Linked DNA regions of Homo sapiens: region 2 is linked to region 1. Evidence: promoter capture Hi-C in human tissues and cell types (Jung and others, 2019). All regions are on one chromosome and are shown on one strand. The core of a region is centred on a gene start or on the middle of the fragment in contact, and the rest is flanking DNA. Distances in the headings are between cores, read along the strand shown.

Region 1 (5,036 bases), core at 454-2,953:
GTGAGGGGAACTGGGACCTGCCTGGACTGGGGGTACTCACCTGTCTGAGGCAGGGCCGCACGCAGCAGCTCCCACCAGAATCCCAGCCAGGTAGATGGACTGGGCCATGGGCTTCAGAGCATGAGAGTCACACACGAGGTTCCACTGATGGGAGAGGAGGAGGCTGAGCTCAGGAGGTTGGGAGAGCCCCAGCAGAGAGGCAGAGGAACCGCATGGGAGGGCCCCCAGGGAGCTGGGTGCGGTGGGTGGTCTGGTGACCTCTAGGGTTTTAGAGCAAGACCCTGTGGAACAGTGAGGGCACCCACAGGCATAGTTTGGCCTTTTGAGGAGTATATCCTGCCACCCTCTGCCTGAACTCTTCCATGGCTCCCTATTGCCCAATGGGTCTCTAGCCACATCTGCCCCTCTCTCCTGTCTCTCCACTTGGAAGCAGCCACCCAAGCTGACACCCTCACCCCTCTCCCAGAGGTTGCTTCCCTCCTGTTCTTTATAAAGAGGTTCTTCCCACTTGTTGGGATGAGCTGCCCCTCTCTGCTTGCCTGGCTTTGCCTGGCGCCCCATCTGGGAGGCAGCCTGGGGTAATCCCTTACTCTGTGTGCTTTGGTCTCGGGGAATCCAGTGAATTGTCACTGAGTCCCCCTGCTGCTGAGTTGCCTGGAGTCACGGCTGACAGGTCAGCAGGGCCAGGACAGGGTGAGGCCGGTGAGTGTCCAGGTGCCAGCATTTAGAGGTGCCCGCCCAGGTGCCCCCCGCACCTCCAAGAGCCTGGGCTGGCCCCATTTGTAGACTGATCCCTGCCGCCCACTTCCCTGTGTGTGGCTGACGAGGGGCTGAGAGGCTCGAGAGTGAGTGGGGCCTGGGGAGGTGGGTCCCTCCCAGGACTGGACCTTTGAGTCTGACCCACCGTGATCCATGACTGACCTCCAAGGTGGTGGGACTCGAGTGGCTCTGGGGGAGGCCCTACCTTGGCCACGATTGTGGAGGTGAAGATGCTGCGGTCATAGACCCAGCCATCCACACACGGCTCCGTGTCGGCCTCGCTCCAGCTGGTGGCCGTGGCATTGGGGTCCAAGAGCTGCCACTGTGGCTGGCGGAAGCGGCGGCACTGGTGGGGCCTCTGGTTGGGGCCCGGCGGGATGGAAATAGCCAGGAGGGCCTCAGGACTCAAGCTCCCTAGGATGCTGGCCTGAGCCGTGCTGTTGTCCAGGAGGGGTGCCCAGCAGCGGTGGCTGGGCACGGCGGCCGAGAAGTTCTCCAGCATGCTCTGGGTACACAGCCACATGATGGAGACCATCAGAGCCATCGTCTGGAGAACCTGGAACCTGCCCAGGCCACCCACGAGGTCCAGGAGTTCAGAAAATGCCATGGAACCTACTCAAGGGGCCCAGAAGAGGGGCCCACTTCACAAAGGCTGGCCCAGGGCAAAGAGGCCAGGGCAACGGGCCTGTTTCCCCCACGGTGGTGCCCACAGTGGCTTCTCCAGCCCAGCGGCTAGGCTTCACAGACTCGGGGCCGGAGGCTCAGGCTCTCTGGTCATCTGCCTGCTGGTGTCACTTGGGGTGGCTCCAACTGGGCCCTGAGGCCGCGTGAGGTGATTCCGAGACCTCCAGCATCTCCCCAGAGAGGCAGCTGCTCCAGACCTCCCGGGAAAGCTGAATTTGGAAAGTAGGGAATGTGGAGACTGAAGACTTTAATTTTAGACTGGAATTAAAGTGTGACCGGTGACACTTATGGAATCGAGTTTAGCAATCATTTCCTTGGTCAAAGTTTAACCCGCGTTGAGGCAGGCACAGACGCGAGGGAGGTGCAGCCTCCTCTGCTTGGGGGCCAGGGCCGGCCTGCTCTGTGCCAGGTCTTGGGGAGGCCTAAGTTTTTCTCCTGGCGGCTGTGGGATGCCAGGGCTGCCTGCTCCCTTCGGTGCCCCTGTGTGCCCACCTCCCAGAGTGGCTGAGCCAAGAGAAGGTGGGCCAGGGGATCCCCCTAATTTGGGGCTGGGGCAGCTGTGCAAGTCTCTGTGTGGGCTTGGGTCACTGGCAGCTGCCCAGCCCCTGCGCCTCCCAGGCTGTGTGGCCTGGCCCCACCCGTGGCTCCTGCCTCCACTCACCTGCTGTGGTTGGCGTCCTGTGCCCGCTTTGCTGTTACCCTGTCCTGAGTCCTCGGTGGAGCTTCCCAGCATCAACAGACACCCCACAGACTCCCCAGGTTCGGTGTGCCCAATGCCACCCTGAGATCTCTGTCCCCTCCCCAAATCTATGCCTCCTGCAGAGCCCCACCTCAGCTATGGCCTCTCATGTCACAGTGTCTGGCCTGGAACCCAGCGTCTTGGTTCACGCCTCCTGCTCCCTGCCTCCCAAATCCACCAGGGGCCAAGCCTGGCTAGTTTTGCCTCCTAAGGATTTCTCTCTCCCACCTCCCCCACTCCACAGCTGTCCCTGCCCTTGTCTTTCTGCCTCAACTCCTGCCCCTGGACCCACCACGCACTGCGAGCCCTTGGGTCAAATCCTGCTTAAAAGCCAAGGGGCTCCCAGTCAACAACAGCTAGTGGTGACTTACTAGGGCAGGTGAGTGGACAGCAGTGTGTGCTGATGCAGGGTGTGGGGTTCAGGAAAGGCTGGACCGAGGCCAAGAGAACCCCCTTGGTCTCGATAGCTAATTCTGTAGGCGAAAGGGCCAGAGAACACAAAGCAGTTAAAAAGTGTGTGTGCATGGCCGGGCGTGGTGGCTCATGCCTGTAATCCCAGCACTTTGGGAGGCCGAGGTGGGGGGATCACTTGAGGTCAAGAGTTCAAGACCAGCTTGGCCAACATGGCAAAAACCCATCTCTACTAAAAATACAAAAGTTAGCTGAGCATGGTCGTGGTGCACAGCTGTAATTCCAGCTACTTGGGAGGCTGAGGCAGGAGAATCTCTTGAACCCAGGAGGCAGAGGTTGCAGCAAGCTGAGATTGCACCACTGCCCTCCAGCCTGGTTGACAGAGAAAGACTCTTATCTCAAAAAAAAAAAAAAAAAGAAAAGAAAAAAAAGAAGTGTATGTATATGTGGGTGTGTGCACATGTCTGTGTATGTGTGCACATGTGTTTGCACAAGTGCATGTGTGTACATGTGTGCATGCGTATATGTGCAGTGCAGCAGTGATGGCAACCCAGGTGTTTGCTCTTATGAGCTTTGGGCATAAAACTCTCCATTTGAGGCATAAATGCCCCTCCCATCTGCTTCTTTTTGCTTCACCGACTCTTCCCGCTGCCCCTCCACATGGCTTACCAAGCCAACTTCTTTGCCTCCCTGGGCTCTGCACCTTGAGTCATCCACTGCTTCCACCACATGCCCTGTACATGCTTTCTCAGTTCCCACCCTTGCTTATGTTGGACCTCCAGCCTGGAATGCTGTCTCCAGGCTCACCCTTAGGCCACATACTGTGTGGAATGGGCACAGTCCAAATACTCCTCCTCCAGCGGGCTCTCTTCACTTATTCCTGCCTACAACTAGGGCTCAGAGTTGTCAGTGGAATCTCATCTTTACACTGTCCTGCATTCTTCTCAAACTCCTGACCTCAGGTGATCTGCCTGCCTTGGCCTCCCAAAGTGGTGTGAGTTGCGGCACCCAGCCATGACCTGCATTCTTCTATTATGGTCCAGTTGGTCTTATTTCCAGTGAGCTCCTGGTAGTCTGGAACCCTTCTTTAGAGGCTCTTTGGAACTGATTTGGACAACAAATAAAGGTTCCATGGAGACTTGCTGAAGTGCATGGATGATTTTTTTAAAAATTTCATTTATTTTCTAATTATGAAATAATTTACACACTTCCTCAAAAATTCAGAACATATTGAAATGAAAATAAAGATCCCTCATATACTCATCAACCAGTGAGTTACACTACTGTTTACAGTTTGGTGTAAATATGTGCAGACTTTGTTTTAGTAACTGATATGTTTAGCTTCATCAGCTTGAGCTGCCAAATAAGCTTTACATTTCCTTTTGTAAAATCCAAAAGAAATACCTCTGCCTTTTAATTAGCGATTTTAACCTGTTCACATTTATTGTAATTATTGACATGTTTGGACTTACTGTATGTTTTCTTGTTTACCACATTTTCCCTTTAAATCTTGGTTTCCTTGTTCCTAATTTCTACTGAATCCATTAAGTTTTCTTGTTATATTCTTCTACTGTCTTGGTCTGTCAGTTGTACGTTTTATTTCTGTTACCCTTATATTTGAACACACAAACCAGGGGTTATTTGATACCATCTTCTCTCTTCAAACCTACCACCTTCTCTTCTATCCTCTCTCTCAATAGATGACCTTTTTTCTTATTTCACTAAAACAATAGAAGCCATCAGAAGCCAACAGTCTAATTCTCTCACCAGCTCACCTGCCTTGGTGCCCCCACATTCTGCCTTCCTTCCACCCAGTTTGGTTTCTCTCTCATCCATGCCAACCCCTCACTGTGTGCCTAGAGCCCACCCCCCTTTGCCTGCTCACATCTCTCTTTGGCATTTGTCTTTCCCTCGCTACTGGATAATTTCCACCAATGTACAAATATGCCATTTTTTTCTGTAGCCTTCCAAAAACTCCCCCTCCATTTGAGCCCCTCTTTCTTCTTAAGCGACTGCCCCACCTTTGCTTGTATTTACAACAAAATTCTATGAAAGTATTATTGACACTCATTTCCAGTTTCTGTCTTCCCATTTTTTTGTTTGTTTTTGGATTCATTCCCATCAAGGTTTTGCCCCTATCACTCTGCTGTCACCAATGACCTCCATGCTGCTAGATTCAATGACATTTTCAGTCCTCATCTTACTTGAGCCATCTGTCTCTGATCTCCATCTGAGAATACTTTCTTCCCTGGGCCTCCAGGACTCACTAGTTCTCAATCTTCTTGGTTGGGTTTTCCTCTTCTCCACACACTGTTAACATTGGAGGCCACTGAGCTCACTCCTTGGTCTTCTCTATATTCTCTATCATCTGGTCCATTCACATCTTTAGCCTGTACCTCTTCTTGGAATGCTAGATTTTGATCCAACTGCCTAATCTTAGGTG
Region 2 (5,036 bases), core at 1,874-4,373, 45 kb after region 1:
TTGAGTCATAATTAGAACAGCCCTCTCTACTCCATGGTGATAAAGGAATTGTTTCATGGTTGGATTTTTAAATCCAGAATGCTTGTTGGATTTGTCACTTTCCTCTCCAACACCTGTAGAGCTGACACTATGACTTTTCTTCTTAAATCTATGAATATGACGAATTATATTAATGGATTTCCTAATGCTGAACCACCCTTTCATTGGATGAAAGGGAGGCCGAGGCGGGGTGGCCGAGGCCAGGTGATCTGCCCGCCTCAGCCTCCCAAAGTGCTGGGATTATAGGCATGAACCACCGTGCCTGGCCTATTTATTAGTCTTTTATGTAGAGGTTTTCATTAATCTTTACATGTGAGATTGGGCTGTAGTTTCCTTTCTTTTCTGGCAAAATCTCTACTCACTCCTAGAATGAAAGGATGGTTCAATATTAGGAAATCCATTAATATAATTCATCATATTCATAGATTTAAGTAGAGTTACACAGCCACACACAGAGCTGGACAGATTGTATTATTTCTTTATTGTACTGCTAGGTACATTATTAATTTTTGTTTATTAATTTTTTCTTTTTTTTTTTTGGTAGTTTCTGGGAAGTCAGGTTTTAACCAGAGTCTCACCTCTGAGCTTCATTTCCTCAGATGGGTCCAATTGTCATGTGATCATGGGCAGGGGTTTGTTCTCATTCTTTCGTGTGTCTCCATCATCATATGCCCGTTTGGACTTTGACTGGCTGCAAGAATCAGAGTGTCTGAAAATTGGTGGAGTTACACAGCCACCCGCAGAACTGTCCTGCAGGTCCTGCTCAATGCAGGTGAGCTGAGGCTGGACTTGCCCCGAGCTCCAGTGATGGGGGTTCATTCCTTGCTATTTGGCTTCTGCTTATTTCCTTTCATTTTACGAGGAAGAGATCCCCAAGCCTTCTTTTCTGGTGCCTTCTGACACCTCATACTGCAAGTACTCCAGGACTTCTCTGGCTTCAGGAACTCAAAGGGTCTACTGGGAGCAAGACAGAATTAGTGTTGGGGACTTAGCACCCACAGAGTAGCCTCCACTCAGTGACTGTCGGGACCTGGTGGGTCAATACCCCAGCTCCCTGGCCCAAGTTGCTCACAACAGTAACTTGCTTGATGCCACACCCGTTGTTGACTTTCTTCCATTCCCCATCTCATTTCCCCTACCAGTGCCTCCTGGGATCGCCTCCCAAATAAATGACTTACATTCAAATCTTTATTTCATATTGGCTTTGGAGGGGACCCAACTTAACGCAGGGTTCCCAACCCTCTTTGGTGGGGTGCGACAGCTGGTTAGTGGCAGCCCTGCAATGACAAGCCTGCCCCCTGCTGATCACTGGCACCACCCCCCGCCCCGGTCATGCTCAGGACAATTGCACGGGTGGGTGTCTGGTGGGGTAGTGAGGCTCAGAGAAGTTAAATGGCTTCTCCAAGCGCAACGGCAAATGCACTTAGTTCTGAAAATTGTTTCCCAGCAATTTCCTTCCACCTAACAGATACACATCTGAAAGTTGTGAAAGAATTCATCATCGTGTCAGCTCCACAAACATGTATTAAAGGTGTACAAGGTTCCAGGCCCCATGCTGGGCCCTGGAGACCCAAGGTGAACCAGCAAGGAGGTTCGTCCAGTGGGGAGACGGATGTAAAAACCACTGCATCAGGGCTGATCATGCAATATCAGCCAACCCAACACACCACAAGACAAAGGCCAGAAACATAACTAGGAAGTACAGAGAAGAAAGAGCTGAGAGAAAGCACCGGTTTGAAAGGGTGTGGGGAGGTGAGGATGGGTGTTCCGGGAGCAAGAACAGCACATGCAAAGGCCCCAAGGCCAGACCAGGAAAGATGGGGGAGGAGGGTCTGATTACTAGGAGAATGTCTCAGGTGGATGAAAATGTAAGGTGGGCTCAGATGAGACAGGGCTACAGAGAGGAGAACCAGGAAGAGGCTTTTCCTGGCCTGAACGGGGCACAGACTGTGGAGATGGTGAGGAGAATGTGAATTCAATACATTTTAAAGAGGTGGGGAACAGGCACAGTGGCTCACGCCTGTAATCCCAGCACTTTGGGAGGCCAAGGCAGGCAGATCTCTTGAGGCCAGGAGTTCAAGACCAGCCTGGCCAACATGGTGAAACCCCATCTCTACTAAAAATACAAAAATTAGCTGGGCATGGTAGCACTCGCCTGTCCCAGCTACTTGGGAGGCTGTGGCAGGAGAATTGCTTGAATCTGGGAAGTGGAGGTTGCAGTGAGCCCTGATCGTGCCACTGCACTCCAGCCCAGAGGTGGATGGGCAGGGACTGCCTAGAGTGCCTCATGGTCCTAGCAAAGTCTCACCGGCTCTTGTGGCGATCTCAATGGCATGCACAGAGTTCCAGAACTTCAGAGCATCTCTTTTTGGTAAGGGGGCAGCATCCTGACCTCCACCCGCCGAAGCACACGCCTGTCCTGGTCACATGCTGGATTAACCTGTAAGCCTATTAACTATGGCTCAGCATCCTTCGCTACCTTGAAAGGAGCCCCAGAGCTCCCTGGTTAGGGAGACAGTTCCCAGCATGGTCCCGAGGATGGCCACATCTGACCTGGCCCTGAGCCACTGTCATGGGCAGCAGGGCATGACTCTCCAGTTGCCTGGAGACTTTACCTTGACCCTGAGTGACCTGAGAGAGCCAAGCCCGATGGCAGCAGTGACTGCTGCTGAGTCATCTGGCCCCCAAGACACCCAAGGGTCCCTGGGCACCCACCCTGTGTTAGCTTCCTGCGGAGGTCTCACTCAGTGCTCACGAGGACCCTACTACAAGCTCTGAAGCCCCAGGGCTGTGTGGACGGCTACAGAACATCATCTGACCCAGGCCTCCCCCAAGAACAGAGCCAATCCCCAAAATTCTGAAGAGAGGTCTTCCCTGACCAAGTCCACAGCTGCTGGGTTGTGTCCTGTCCAGGCAAAGCCACCTCCCAGCACTTTTCCTCTGGAGCAGCATGAAGGGCAGTGGGGGACCTGCAGCCCAGGCTGACCTGCAAACCGGCCTCCAGCCTGCCCCTGGGCCTGGGGTTGGGACAGGGCCTCTTTCAGAGGCCTCCGGAGCAGCAGTTCCTGGTGGGTTCCCACAGGTGCCCCCAGCACCCACAGGACAGCATCAGGACATGGCAGGAAGCTGGGGCTTCCCTCTACCCTTGCTACTCAAAGTGTGGTCCATGGACCAGCAGCATCAATGTCACTTGTGAGTTCTTTAGAAAGGCAGAATCTCAGATCCCAACCCAGACCTCCAGAATCAGAATCTGCATTTACTAAGAGCCCCAAGTGATCTGTGTGCCCACTGAAGTTTAAGACGCCCTGGCCTTGACCATTCTCCACAGCCACGACTATTCCACACCTTCTATCTCCTCGGAAGGGGTTTCCAAGAGGGACTTTATGTTTATTTCCATGGCAGCCTCTCCGTCGAAATATAAGCTCCTTGCAGATGGGAACGCATATCACTAAACCCCTTGGTGCCTGAGCCCTGCCTGCACACTGGAGGTGCCTACTCAGTGCTTGCTGAATAAGCGAGGGGATGTGTGTCACCATGCAGGCTGGCAGCGCGCCATGGCCAAGTCCATTCCTATCCTCTGCATCATCAGGCAATGGAGCAAGGAACGGAGTGGCACGTGAGAGCAAACAGACGTGCCGCCCCTGCCACAGCGCACTAGGATTTGTTCTTTGCGCAGACAACTGGAGAGGCAGAAGCCTGGGGGCATACGTTCTCCCCAGCCCCCCTTCCCACTCTTCCTGACATATGCGCCCTTGCCCTGGCGGCAGGTAGACTTCAGACCCTTCTCTTCATTGGTCTCAACCTAGCTACAGACTGAGTTCACTCAGCCACTTCTTTGCCAACTAAGGATCCTGCCCTTAAGGAACCTACTGGGTGACATCGCCCAAGAGGTGCAAGAACCCGAAGCTCTGGGTCACACAGGTCTCCTGGGTCAAACAGCTCTCTGTTTTCCCAGGGACATGGAGGGGCTCACGGTTCAGGATGGCTAGTGGGGCACTCATTTACCTCCTCCAACCAAATCCAAGTGGATCCAGAAAGGAAATAGTTTGGCAGTCCCAGAGCAGCATGGGAAAGGTGAGAAATGGAAAACTAGGGAAAGAATCTGCATAAGACATAAAGATCATGGGACAGATGGACAATGAAACCTCAGACCAAGGGACCTGCACCACATGCAGGAGGGAAAGGAGGCCCAAACACCTGAGCCTTCCTAGGAGGACAGCACTAGGTGAGAGGCTGCAGTGTGGGCACAGGCCAAGAACATCTGGGTAATTAACAGCATCAGGGTGAGCAGATTGACTGTGCCCCACCCTCCCTCCACCAAACACCACTTGGCATTGAATTCCATGTTTGCCTGGAGGTCAAGGTGCAAGAACAGCTAAATGGAGTTCTGAAACTGCATGGTAGGCCAGAGAAAAAGGGCAGCACCCCAGGCAACTTAAGGATCCCATGGGGAAGCAGAACCCTTTACTCAGAAAATCAGATCCACCAGTGCCTCCTGGCCACAGGCCTCTTTCACTTGCCCACACGTCACAATCACTGTAGACAGGGTTCTCCAGCACAAAGCTTTCATGCATGGCTAAGCCAACAGGAATTCCCACTTAGCCTGAGGAAGGACATTCTAGGAAACAATTTTGTCCATATCCCTCCCCCCACCATCTTCAAATATGAAGAGGCAACAAAGAAACACTAAAAATGCAAGAATCCAATGCACCAAAAGAGAGACACCAAACTCAACAAACAAAAGAACCAACACAGGAGGACGATGAAGTAATGCAGTAAACAGAAGAAAAAGGTAAAACCGCTGTAGTTTCTATTTCCAGGGAAATTTGAGAGGACATCAATTTTTTAAAAGAAATAGGTTCCCGAGAAAAGGAAATCTTTTCAGTTTTGGAAATTGTCAACTTGATGGGCAAATTCTGAAACCACTAATTAATAGATTGAATAATGAGGGGAATACAGTGACCTGGAAGTTCATGACAAAGGAGTTTCCTGGAACC

Evidence for each region. The method cuts DNA at HindIII sites, captures the fragments that hold promoters and counts their contacts. A contact is called where the count stands out against the background at its distance.
Region 2: a contact is called between a fragment that was not itself captured here and the fragment with the promoter of SLC22A12 in region 1, in 1 of the 25 tissues and cell types used here (liver).

Annotation. Positions count from the first base shown.
Region 1 is chr11:64,587,887-64,592,922 of GRCh38, reverse strand. It overlaps SLC22A12 (solute carrier family 22 member 12), which reads right to left and starts at 1,703. Exons shown (of 10, transcript NM_144585.4): 1 at 965-1,703; 2 at 41-144. The coding sequence starts at 1,366. The HindIII fragment of the contact is 41,401 bases long and covers 1-5,036 here.
Region 2 is chr11:64,544,397-64,549,432 of GRCh38, reverse strand. No RefSeq gene overlaps it. Among named protein-coding and RNA genes, the nearest start is that of SLC22A11, 9.0 kb to the left of the region's middle. The HindIII fragment of the contact is 7,372 bases long and covers 1-5,036 here.